4 separate regions of the Homo sapiens genome follow, and regions 1, 2 and 3 are each linked to region 4. Evidence: promoter capture Hi-C in human tissues and cell types (Jung and others, 2019). All regions are on one chromosome and are shown on one strand. The core of a region is centred on a gene start or on the middle of the fragment in contact, and the rest is flanking DNA. Distances in the headings are between cores, read along the strand shown.

Evidence for each region. Contacts are between HindIII fragments. The study calls those that stand out against the background at their distance.
Region 1: a fragment that was not itself captured here is called in contact with the fragment with the promoter of FAM13C in region 4 in 3 of the 25 tissues and cell types used here (bladder, hippocampus and pancreas).
Region 2: a fragment that was not itself captured here is called in contact with the fragment with the promoter of FAM13C in region 4 in 2 of the 25 tissues and cell types used here (bladder and heart right ventricle).
Region 3: a contact is called between a fragment that was not itself captured here and the fragment with the promoter of FAM13C in region 4, in 2 of the 25 tissues and cell types used here (adrenal gland and dorsolateral prefrontal cortex).

What each region holds. Positions count from the first base shown.
Region 1 is chr10:59,326,643-59,329,342 of GRCh38, forward strand. The region is part of intron 3 of FAM13C (family with sequence similarity 13 member C); the gene reads right to left. All of the region lies in intron 1 of LOC102724778 (a long non-coding RNA gene), which reads left to right. Among named protein-coding and RNA genes, the nearest start is that of FAM13C, 35 kb to the right of the region's middle. The HindIII fragment of the contact is 4,252 bases long and covers 1-2,700 here.
Region 2 is chr10:59,413,434-59,416,133 of GRCh38, forward strand. No RefSeq gene overlaps it. Among named protein-coding and RNA genes, the nearest start is that of FAM13C, 52 kb to the left of the region's middle. The HindIII fragment of the contact is 6,099 bases long and covers 1-2,700 here.
Region 3 is chr10:59,308,251-59,310,950 of GRCh38, forward strand. All of the region lies in intron 4 of FAM13C (family with sequence similarity 13 member C), which reads right to left. Among named protein-coding and RNA genes, the nearest start is that of FAM13C, 53 kb to the right of the region's middle. The HindIII fragment of the contact is 4,882 bases long and covers 1-2,700 here.
Region 4 is chr10:59,361,140-59,363,839 of GRCh38, forward strand. FAM13C (family with sequence similarity 13 member C) reads right to left here and starts at 1,410. Exons shown (of 14, transcript NM_198215.4): 1 at 1,260-1,410. The coding sequence starts at 1,321. It overlaps LOC124902428 (a long non-coding RNA gene), which reads left to right and starts at 760. Exons shown (of 2, transcript XR_007062148.1): 1 at 760-1,244; 2 at 1,929-2,375. The HindIII fragment of the contact is 7,624 bases long and covers 233-2,700 here.

The DNA.
Region 1 (2,700 bases), core at 190-2,689, 34 kb before region 4:
TTTTAGTTTAGTTCCTTCCACTCCATTATCTCCTTATGGAAGGATCACCTATGGGCAAATAGCCCCAGCAAAGCTCACATGGGAATCAATGAGCCTTCAGATGCTTCTAATTTCTAGGCTTTAAGTCTTCTAGCTGATACCCCAGACAGCCTGAAGCAGACACAGACCTCTCTAGTCTGCCCTAGGTGAGTTCCTGACCCTCAGAAACCATGAAAGATAATATATGATTATTGCAATTTTAAGTTTTGTGGTTATTTGTTATGCAACAATAGATAACTAAAACACATTACCTTTCCTGTATTCTAAGATATCATCAATTATAAACCATCATTGGTTTGATTACATAAGTCTTTTAGGAAAAAAATAATGCCACATTAAATGCATCCATCAATTTTAAGAAACGTTCAAAAATGAGAAAGGTGAAATTTTGAACAGATGTGTGCATTGGCATTAAGGAACGACAGAGCATGCCCAGGACAGCCTGGCATGTAACAACACAAGACGTCCCGACCCAAGTACCTTACAGGGAATAGGGGAGGAAAACCCAAGCCTTAGTTGACCAGCTTTAAAAAATAATTTCATGTTTTCTCTTAAAGAAAGAAGACAGAAGAAATGGGGATATCATCTTATTGAATTAATAGAACAGTAGCTTTCAAAGGTCTTGTGCTGCCAGCTGTCATTTATTCATAAAGTTATAAAGGAAAGAGTACAAAACAAGAATAGTAGTACTCAATCAAATGTATTTGCCTCTATAAGAGATTTAGCCAGATGCATGAGAAGCCAAGGCTTACTTCCTTGGTAAGCCCATTTCTCTGCTCCAGTTGGACTCCACCACCTGGTGAAGGTTAACTAGGGCTGCCAAAGAAAGTCCTTAGAGTAAATAACATATTTGTGAAAGATTGAGAGTTAACATTTTGTCCCCACCCCCCCACCAAAAAAGGTGACAACATCAAGAAAGGAAATAAATAACACATTTGATTACCTTTGCCCATTTAAGCTTCATCACTCTGTTTAGAATCGGCTGTAACATTCGGCTCAAAAATTGTAGAACATTAAAGTAGGGTATGTATTCTGAAATAAATAAGATATATTTTTACCTAAAAAAACCCCACTATTATATACCAAGCACTTTTATAGTTGAGAGGGTTATAGAGAAGTGAATAAGACATTCTTGCCCCCAAAGAACTTTAAAATCTACTGTTTGACACAGACTGAAGGGTAAGAGAGCAGATTCTAACTTTTTACTTCTGTGTTAATGTGTCTGTCAAATGGTCAGATCCAAACTGACCAAGGGGACTGAGGGAAGAAGCCAAAATCCTCTGCTCCATGCTTGGTCTTTCTGCCACCTGGCCAAGCGTAGCCCAGATGGGCACCTGGAAGAAAAGGCATCCCACATCTTTTCCTGTTCCCAGCCATCTTCATCTACCCTCCACCTCACCCCTAGTATGTCCCAAGTCCACCTCAGTGGGGTGATTTGTTGGTTCTCTGCCAAATGCAGGGACCATCAAATTTACTACATTCTGAGATAGTTCATAAGAAAGCTGTCCATGAAGCAAACATAATTTAGGCTATTTATCTCATCCAGGTACAGAGGCTAGGAGAGTGTGCATGATAACAAAAGGAAAGCTATTAACTCAAGAGGCTCAAAACTCAAACTTAGTTAAGGAAAAATTAGCTGCCCCTAAACCAGAATGGTGAAATATGATATTTTGTTCTCATTGCAATTTTAGTGAGTTCAGCTGACTCTTGTAGCACTTGAGATCATCTAGTTTTGATCAAATGGCATGGCCATTGCTTCAGGCCCTTCCAAGTTCCTTTATTTGTACAAATCCATGGCCATCAAGAAAAACAAAACAAAACAAAACAAAACAATATTCCATTCTAATCCCACCATTCTAATCCCAGATCTTGCCCATCTTCTCTGTCTGAAAGTCAGAAATGTATCTTTGGGCCTCAAGGATGTACACATCCTGTATATCTTCCCTCCAGGATGTGGTCAATCAAAACATCAAATGTTCATCTTCTCATACTTGAGGTTTTCTCTGTGTCCACTCTCCCCAAATTGATAAAACTTTATTTTCTTCAACTACTGGATTAAATTTTAAATTAAATGGTTCTGTAGCTTAATCACTCTATTGTTAATGCCTTGCATTTATGAGAGTATTTCCCAAAATCTCTAATTAAGACATGATTAATATATCTGATAGCACTATAATTTGGAAAATCTTATATTTTCAGTTCTTAAGGTGAACAAGAGAAAGTGTTGTAAATCTACCCTATCCTACATCACCCAAGAGTCCCTTTTTTCTTAACCTTCACATATCTGTGAAAGTGACTTGATGTCCTTCTGAATAATTGGGGAACTTTAAAGATGTTTATACCCGGATAAAAGAAGCTATTGGACTATTACATTCATGTCGTAACTAGGGTAAAGAGCGTCCTGTACGAGTTGATTTAAATTTCCTTTCAAAAATGTGTGTCTATTATTTAAAATTTTCTGGCCCTTTAAGAAATAGGGAACCAAGAGAGCAGTTTCTTCAGATCTATTTTTAAAACATTTCTGGCCATCTTACTCATTATTTCAACAAAGAAATAAAATAAATCATGGGAAAACGCAGGCATAGGCTCAAAATCCACATATATCCATGAAGTAGGATGTCCTCTGATTCCATTTTTTTTTCTTTTTTTCTTTCTTTCTGG
Region 2 (2,700 bases), core at 12-2,511, 52 kb after region 4:
CTTCTCTGCTCTGGTTTCTCCCCATCTTTGTGGTTTTATCTACCTCTGGTCTTTGATGATGGTGATGTACAGATGGGGTTTTGATGTGGATGTCATTTCTGTTTATTAGTTTTCCTTCTAACAATCAGGACCCTCAGCTGCTGGTCTGTTGGAGTTTGCTGGAGGTCCACTCCAGACCCTGTTTGCCTGGGTATCACCAGCAGAGGCTGCAGAACAGCAAATGTTGCTGTCTGATCCTTCCTCTGGAAGCTTCATCTCAGAGGGGCACCCAGCTGTATGAGGTGTCAGTCAGCCCCTACTGGAAGGTGTCTCCCAGTTAGGCTACTCAGGGGTCAGGGACCCACTTGAGGAGGCAGTCTGTCCACTCTCAGATTTCAAACTCCATGCTGGGAGAACCACTACTCTCTTCAAAGCTGTCAGACAGGGACGTTTAAGTCTGCAGAAGTTTCTGCTGCCTTTTGTTCTGCTATGCCCTGCCCCCAGAGGTGGAGTCTGCAGAGGCATGTAGGCCTCCTTGAGCTGCCATGGGCTCTACCCAGTTCGAGCTTCCTGGTGGCTTTGTTTACCTACTCAAGCCTCAGCAATGGCAGATGCCCCTCCCTCAGCCTCGCTACTGCCTTGCAGTTCAATCTCAGACTGCTGTGCTAGCAGTGAGCGAGGCTCCATGGGTGTGGGACCCTCCAAGCCAGGCACAGAATATAATCTCCTGTGTGCCATTTGCTAAGGCCGTTGGAAAAGTGCAGTATTAGGGTGGGAGTGTCCCGATTTTCCAGGTACTGTCTGTCACGGCTTCCCTTTGCTAGGAAAGGGAATTCCCCGACGCTTTGTGCTTCCTGGGTGAGGCAATGCCCCACCCTGCTCCATGAGCTGTGCCCACTGTCAGACAAGCCCCAGTGAGATGAACCCAGTACCTCAGTTGGAAATGCAGATACCTCAGTTGGAAATGCAGAAATCACCCATCTTCTGTGTCACTCAGGCTGGGAGCTGCAGACTGGAGCTCTTCCTATTTGGCCATCTTGGAACCTCCACCAGTAGTTCTATTTTTAATTTTTTGAGGAACTTCCATTCTGTTTTTTATAATGACTGTAGTAATTTTCATTCTCACCAGTAGTGTATAAGAGTTTTCCTTGCTCCACATCTATGTCAGCATTCATTACTTTTTGTCTTTTTGATAGTAGCCATTCTAATTGAGGTGAAATGATATTTCATTGTGGTTTTTATTTGCATTTCCCTGATGGTTAGTGATGCTGAGCATTATTTTCAGAAACCTGTTAGCCACTCACATATTTCCTTTTGAGGAATGTCTATTCAGGTCTTTTGCTCAAGGAAAGAGAACAAGAGTCTCTGCCTGGTAATCCAGATAATTATTCTGGATCTTGTCTAAGGCCATGAAGGTAACACCACTATGAGTCTGCAAGAACTAGTGTTAGTGGGCTTTGTGTGCCCCCCTAAAGCAGATACACCTTACAGCACAATGCCCAAGTCCTTTCAAATACCTGGAAAGCCTTCCCAAGAAAGACAGGTACAAACAAGCCCAGAATGTGAAGACTATAATAAATACATAACTCTTCAATGCCCAGATACGGATGAACATCTGCAAGTATCAAGACAATCCAGGAAAAACATGACCTTACCAAATGAACTAAATAGGGCACCAGGGACAAAGCCTGGAGAAACAGAGCTATGTGACCTTTCAGATATAGAATTCAAAATAGCTATTTTGAGAAAACTCAAAGAAATTGAAGATAACACAGAGAATAAATTCAAAATTCTATCAGATTAATTTAACACAGAGATTCAAATAATTAAAGAGATTCAAGCAGAAATTCTGGAGTTGCAAAATGCAACCGGTATATTAAAGAATGCATCAGAGCCTTTTAACAGCAAGATTGATTAAGCAGAAGAAAGCACTAGTGAGCATAAAGACGGGCTATTTGAAAATACACAGAGGAGACAAAAGGAAAAAGAATAAAAAACAATGAAGCACACCTACAGGATCTAGAAAATAGCTTCAAAGGGGCAAATCTAAGCCTTCTTGGCCTTAAAGAAAAGGTAGAGTAAGAGATGGGGGCAGAAAGTTTATTCAAAGGGATAATAATAGAGAATATCCCAAATCTAGACAAAAATGTCAATATCCAAGTACAAGAAGGTTATAGAACACCAAGCAGATTTAACCCACAGAAGACTACCTCAAGGTGTTTAATAATCAAACCCCCAAAGATCAAGGATAAACAAAGGATCCTGAAGGCAGCAAGAGGAAAGAAACAAATCACATACAATGGAGCACCATTCACATACATCTGGCAGCAGACTCTTCAGTGGAACCCTTACAGGCCAAGAGAAGTTTGCATGCTATGTTTAAAGGGCTGCAGGAAAAAAAACTTTTACACTAGAATAGTATATCTGACAAAAATGTCTTTCAAATATAAAGGAGGAATAAAGACTTTCCCTAACAAACAAAAGCTGATGAATTTCATCAACCCCAGATATGTCCTACAAAAAATGCTAAAGGGAGTACTTCAATTAGAATGAAAAGGATATTAATGAACAATAAGAAATAATCTGAAGGTACAAAACTCAGTGGCAATAGTAAGTACACAGAAAAACACAGAATATTATAACACTGTAACTGTGGTATGTAAACTACTCCCATATTTGCAGAAGCACTAAATGATGAACCAAAGAAATAACTACAACTTT
Region 3 (2,700 bases), core at 184-2,683, 53 kb before region 4:
GAGCCCAATTATGGCCCTCAGTAGTGATGAGCATGTGATATCTCCAACCATCACCACCACTACTACCACCATGACTATCACCACCATTCACCAACATCATCACCCACCACCACCACTACCACCACCACCATTACCACCACCATCACCACAACCACCACAACCACTGCCATCACCTCCACAATCACCATCATCACCATCACCATCACCATTGCCACCATCACTACCACCACTGCCACTACCATTGCCACCACCACTGCCACCACCCACCAGCATCACCCCCATCATCACCCCCACCACCACCACCAGCACCACCAACCACCATCACCACCACCAGCACCACCAACCAGCATCACCATCACCACCACCAGCACCACCATTGCCACTGCTGCCACCACTGTATAATTCAAAGTAAAAAATACTTCTCAACAGAGAAATGCAAAACTTAATTTTGTGCTGATATGAAAAGAGCTTTTCCCTGGATTCAAACTGCAAACTTGTGGATAGCCTATGACTACAAACTTGTGGATAGCCCACTGAAATACAACTTTTCTAAAAATGTTTGATGTTCCCACTTTGCTGGAACCCTAAAGCTCGTGCTGAGTCAGCCTGTAGGGTCATCTTCTAGTGGCCTCCTCGCAGGAGGTGTACTGGAGTTCAAAACAATAAACCCAACTAAGCATTAAGATATTTTTCTTGGCCTAAGGACAGTGTCAAACTGCAGGATGTGATAATTTGTGAAAACGCCACATTTTAGCTCACAGTTGTATATTTACACCAATGTTTGAACTATCTATAATTAAATTAGCAGAGGAAAGTGTTTCCTATTTCAGTGAAAAGCTTCCCCATCTTGCCAATGGCTCATGGAAGACAACGGACAGCTATCTAACGCTTTTCTTTCCCTTAAGCCCAATAACCAAGTTATTAACAAGCCTCTCAATTTCTTATCCCAAATCATGTTTGTGTCTGTCCCCTCCCCTCTATCTCTACCACTGCCATCTGGGGCCAAGCCACCAGCACCTCTCATCTGAACTACCTGAATGACAGTAGTTTCTCCCTGGTCTCCCTACTTCCCCTCTACCCTCCTCAGGCCACCGTTCACACAAGATCTTTCACTACCCTTCTGCACACTATACTTAAAATAAAACTCAAAATTCCGAGAGTACTGTATGACACCCTGAAGGATTTAGTATGTGCCCACTCCTCAACCTTAGCTTGCATCATTCTCCCTCTCTGAACTCCAGCTACACTGGCATTCTTTCCGTTTTGTGGATGCACCATGCTCCTTTCCAGCGCAGGCCTTCACATGTGCCTGTAATGCTGTTCCCTCTCCACTTTCTCTCCTAAGTAACTCATTCATACTTTAGATGCTAGATAGCTCCCAGTCAGGTCTCCCTTTCTTATATATGTTCTCACTGTATTCTGATCTTCTACTTTCTGCTATGCAGCAGGTCTCAGTTCTTAATCATGTATTTGTGTAATTATTTGATTGTTTCTTTCTCACGATGGTGAGCACTGTGGAGCAAGGACCATAGCAGCCTTGCTTAGCATTTTATCTCTAGGGCCAAGTCTGGCATATGACACACAGTAGGCACTCATATGTTTGTAAATAACGTATTCATCCTAGGGTTATGGGCAGCTGCCAATTCTTATATATTTCTGAGTGTGTAAAGTAATGATAACTGATGCTCCCTCTTCCACCTATAGCATGCTAGCAGAGCCTAGAGGATGGAATGACTCTCATTCCCATAACAAATGCATTTCTTCCCTGAAGAGATCTATGAAAGATTAATTAGTAGCTTTTGAACCCATGACCTAGAAAACCTGGGCAGAAAGAGTAAAAAGAGAGCATCCAACACACTTTTCAGAATACTTCACATAGAATCAGAGCCTTAGAACTGAGCAGTGCTGACTCCCATCACATCTTCAGAATTCAGGATATTCCACTGCATAAAAAATTGAGCCTCTCTATGAGAAGGCAATACTTGGGATACACTAATGTATACCCGGATGACTGCTGGCTGGCTGTATGACTGGTGTTTCCTGAAACTCTTTTGAAAACAAAAGGTATATCCCAAGAGGACAACCCTCTGAGCAAAACATGTTTTATATACAAACAATAGCTCTATATGCAGACACAGACAAGATGCCAATAAATTCCAGTAATATTATTAGAAACAATAACAGCCCTTAATACCAGTAAATAGAAAGTTCCTTTCTCTAGAGAGTCGAAGCCACATTGAAGACATTCTCTTATTGGTTCTTACCAAATGTCTGCTAAAGGACTGAGGTCAAATATTAAGCAGCCAACTTCAAAGACTAAAAAAAAACCAAGCCACAGTGTTCAAAATTATTCCCCGAGAGACTACTGAAAGAAAACAAAACTCGAAGTCCATGGATGTTCAGAAACTGACTTCCCAACCCATGTATCCACTTGTCCAGGCCAATGAACTCCCAAGGATGCTTCAGCTAGAAACAGAACACTGATCCCCAATGGTATACCCTCCCAGAAGCCAACTTCCCCAACCACCACCTCCCACCTTGTACTTCTCTGAAGATTAGAATCAGCCAGTATTATTAAAACAGAGATTCCTGGGCCACAACCCAAACCTACTTAATCAGAATTTCCAGAAAAGTAGGATGATGACATATAGTTAAGAAGCACTCTAGGGGATTCCTAATTGGGGAACGCTATCCTAAAGG
Region 4 (2,700 bases), core at 160-2,659:
TACCAAGCAATCTTATAAACAGAATGTGGGTCCAAATGAGTATTTTACATTGCTTCTTCTAAAGTCAATCCTGTTTTTTTTTTTAAGTGACTCCACTTAAGTCTGCTCAAAACTGGACACTAAAGGAGCAGCACAGCAAAAGAGAGAAACAAAAGAATGTGGAAAACAAGAGGGCCTAGGAAGCACTGTAAACCTTATCCCTCCCTCACCAAGTCATTGTGATAGTGGCAGGACTTGGAAGCCAAAAGCAAAACATTTATTTGCTTTTTAGGGAATTTTAGCAAACAGCTCCCCAGTTAGTTAAGCCTTCTACATCAAACTCATAACATTTTTTAAATGTAGTTGAGGATACAACTTTACACATGCCTTTTTCCTGAAAAGATGTTTAGAGTGGCTTCTACAAAGGTCCCAGAAGTAAACATCATGAATTAGCCTAGAGAAAGAATGCTAGATGAAGTACATATTCATATATATATATGTATATATAAATTACATACAGTATTAGCAAAATACACTACCTGTTAATTTTTAACAAATATAGTATAATATTAGGAAAACATTAAGGAAGGGATGTCAAAAATTAAAACTATAGCATATAAATATCTTTAAAAAAATACTGTGCTTGCTGGTACGCTCCTTCATTCACACTCCTTCATTCCATGTTTGAAGGGTGTTAGTTGCCCTAATCAACAGCTTTAACCATAGGACTAGGTGACTCATTCGTCCCATAGTCACATCTCTGTAGTCAGAAGACAAACATGACAAAGGGCATGCACAAAAAGTTTACTCTGATATGCCTTAAAAATCTGTAGACAAGAGAGGGCCAAGATAAGTTTAGCCTGTTTACCACATGCTGGAATTCAGCTCATTTCACATCTATCTTCTATTGCTGTAAATGTATATAGTGTGCACTCCATGAAAACTGACACCAATGTTGGCAAAATACAACAAAGCTTCCTAACACATCAAATGGATTTTTAAAAATCTGAGCTCCAAGAACACATATCTTGGAGCACTGAGCTCCTGCAAGCAATCAGCTGGTTTTAATTTCTCTCCCGCAGCTGCTAAAATGCTGGTTTCAACCTGTAAAGATTTCTGGGCCCCACCAGTCAGCACGTCTCACGGTCTTCACAGCCCCAGATTCCGGGAGACAATGCATCTAAAACGAACAGCGGCTGGGAACGGTGGAGGATACCTTCACGATAGTTGCTTCCAGAGAAAGGCATGCAAGTCTAATTTTAATGGTAAGAATCACTTACTCTGTTACAGTGGTGCTGCTGAAGGAATTATCCTGAAGGCTGAAACAGAAACAAGAAAACATCAGCCAAGTCTGGCCGGGGAGCCGTCTCCCTGATTGCTCTCCGGGAGTTAGAGCACATACACAAACATGGCATTGCAAGGCAAGTCTCCGGGCTCGCCCGGCACGCTCGCTCTACCTTGGGCTGCTGTCTGCACATGCTCGTAACGACACCCCCAGCAGGGGCCCAGCGGCACGGGCGAACCACAAAGCCCGGCAGCCCGCGAGGCTGCGGGGACAGAGCTGGGCGGGGCGCGGCGGCGGGGCTGGGACCCCGGGATCCAGCGAGGAGCACCTGGAGAGTTACCACACGACCCCGACCTCGCCAGCCCAGGCGCCGCGTTTAATCTTGGGCTCTTTGTGCCAGCCACCCCCCGAGGCTGGCAATGAGAATGCCCCAGTGTTTCTGCCGAAGTGCTGAAATACCCGGGAGACTTGCTTTCTTCCACATGTCTCCTACCAATTTTACAGAGCTCACCCCAACCCCCCACACTCCCACCCCACCCCCAGGGATGGAGGCTCGCAGAGATTCATCCATCGTTCAGAAAAAGTCAGGAGAGAACAAGAAGGGGGAGGGGGATATTGCTGCTGTTTGGTGTTTTATTTTGTGTGTGTGTTTTTTGTTGCCTAGGAAAAAGAATAGGCTCTAAAGCAGGGCTGGCTGCATCACACCTGATCTGTCTAGAGCGCTCTTATTTCAGTCCCAGAGAGGAAGCGCCCAGCCCCGGACTACAGAGCTGTGAATGAACCCACGCAGGGCGAGTGGAGAATTTATTCCAGGGGTTAGCTGGTGATTAGGACACCGTGCAAGGGGTGGGGCTTGCTATGCCTAGAGCAGCCCGCTTGAGCTCAGCTCCCTAGCTAGCACCTTTACAAAGGATGGAGAGACGGAATCCGCAAACGCTATCCCTTTGAATAAAGGCAGCCTTGTTAGGGAAAGGAAAGACTGTCAGTCCCCCCACTGGCTTCTTTCCCTTGGGGATATTTGTTCTGCCCTCTTTGTATTGTTCATTTCTCCTGCCATGTTGACCTGGATATGGGATGTAGCATCTATTAAAGATTCTTATTTGAATTTGAATTATTTTATTTGAATTTTGAAATAAGATTCCCATCCCCCTTTTTAATCTTTCTACTCCCAGAAGCAGCTAGGATAGTGGTTTTTAGTCCAAACCTATGTAAGTTAATGAGTTAACATAACAACAAAAAACTCATAATTTTTCTAATTGGGCAATTAAAAACTTTACCAAAACTTGGAAATAATGGGGAAGAGCATGACCTTTCAATGTCAAACTGAGACATCGGTTAACAAGTCCACCCAGGGGCCAGTTAATTCTCCAGTTGTGTTTGGCTTTGCTCTTCACTATTGATTAGATTCCAGCCACAGTGAAGTTCTGTGGTCACTT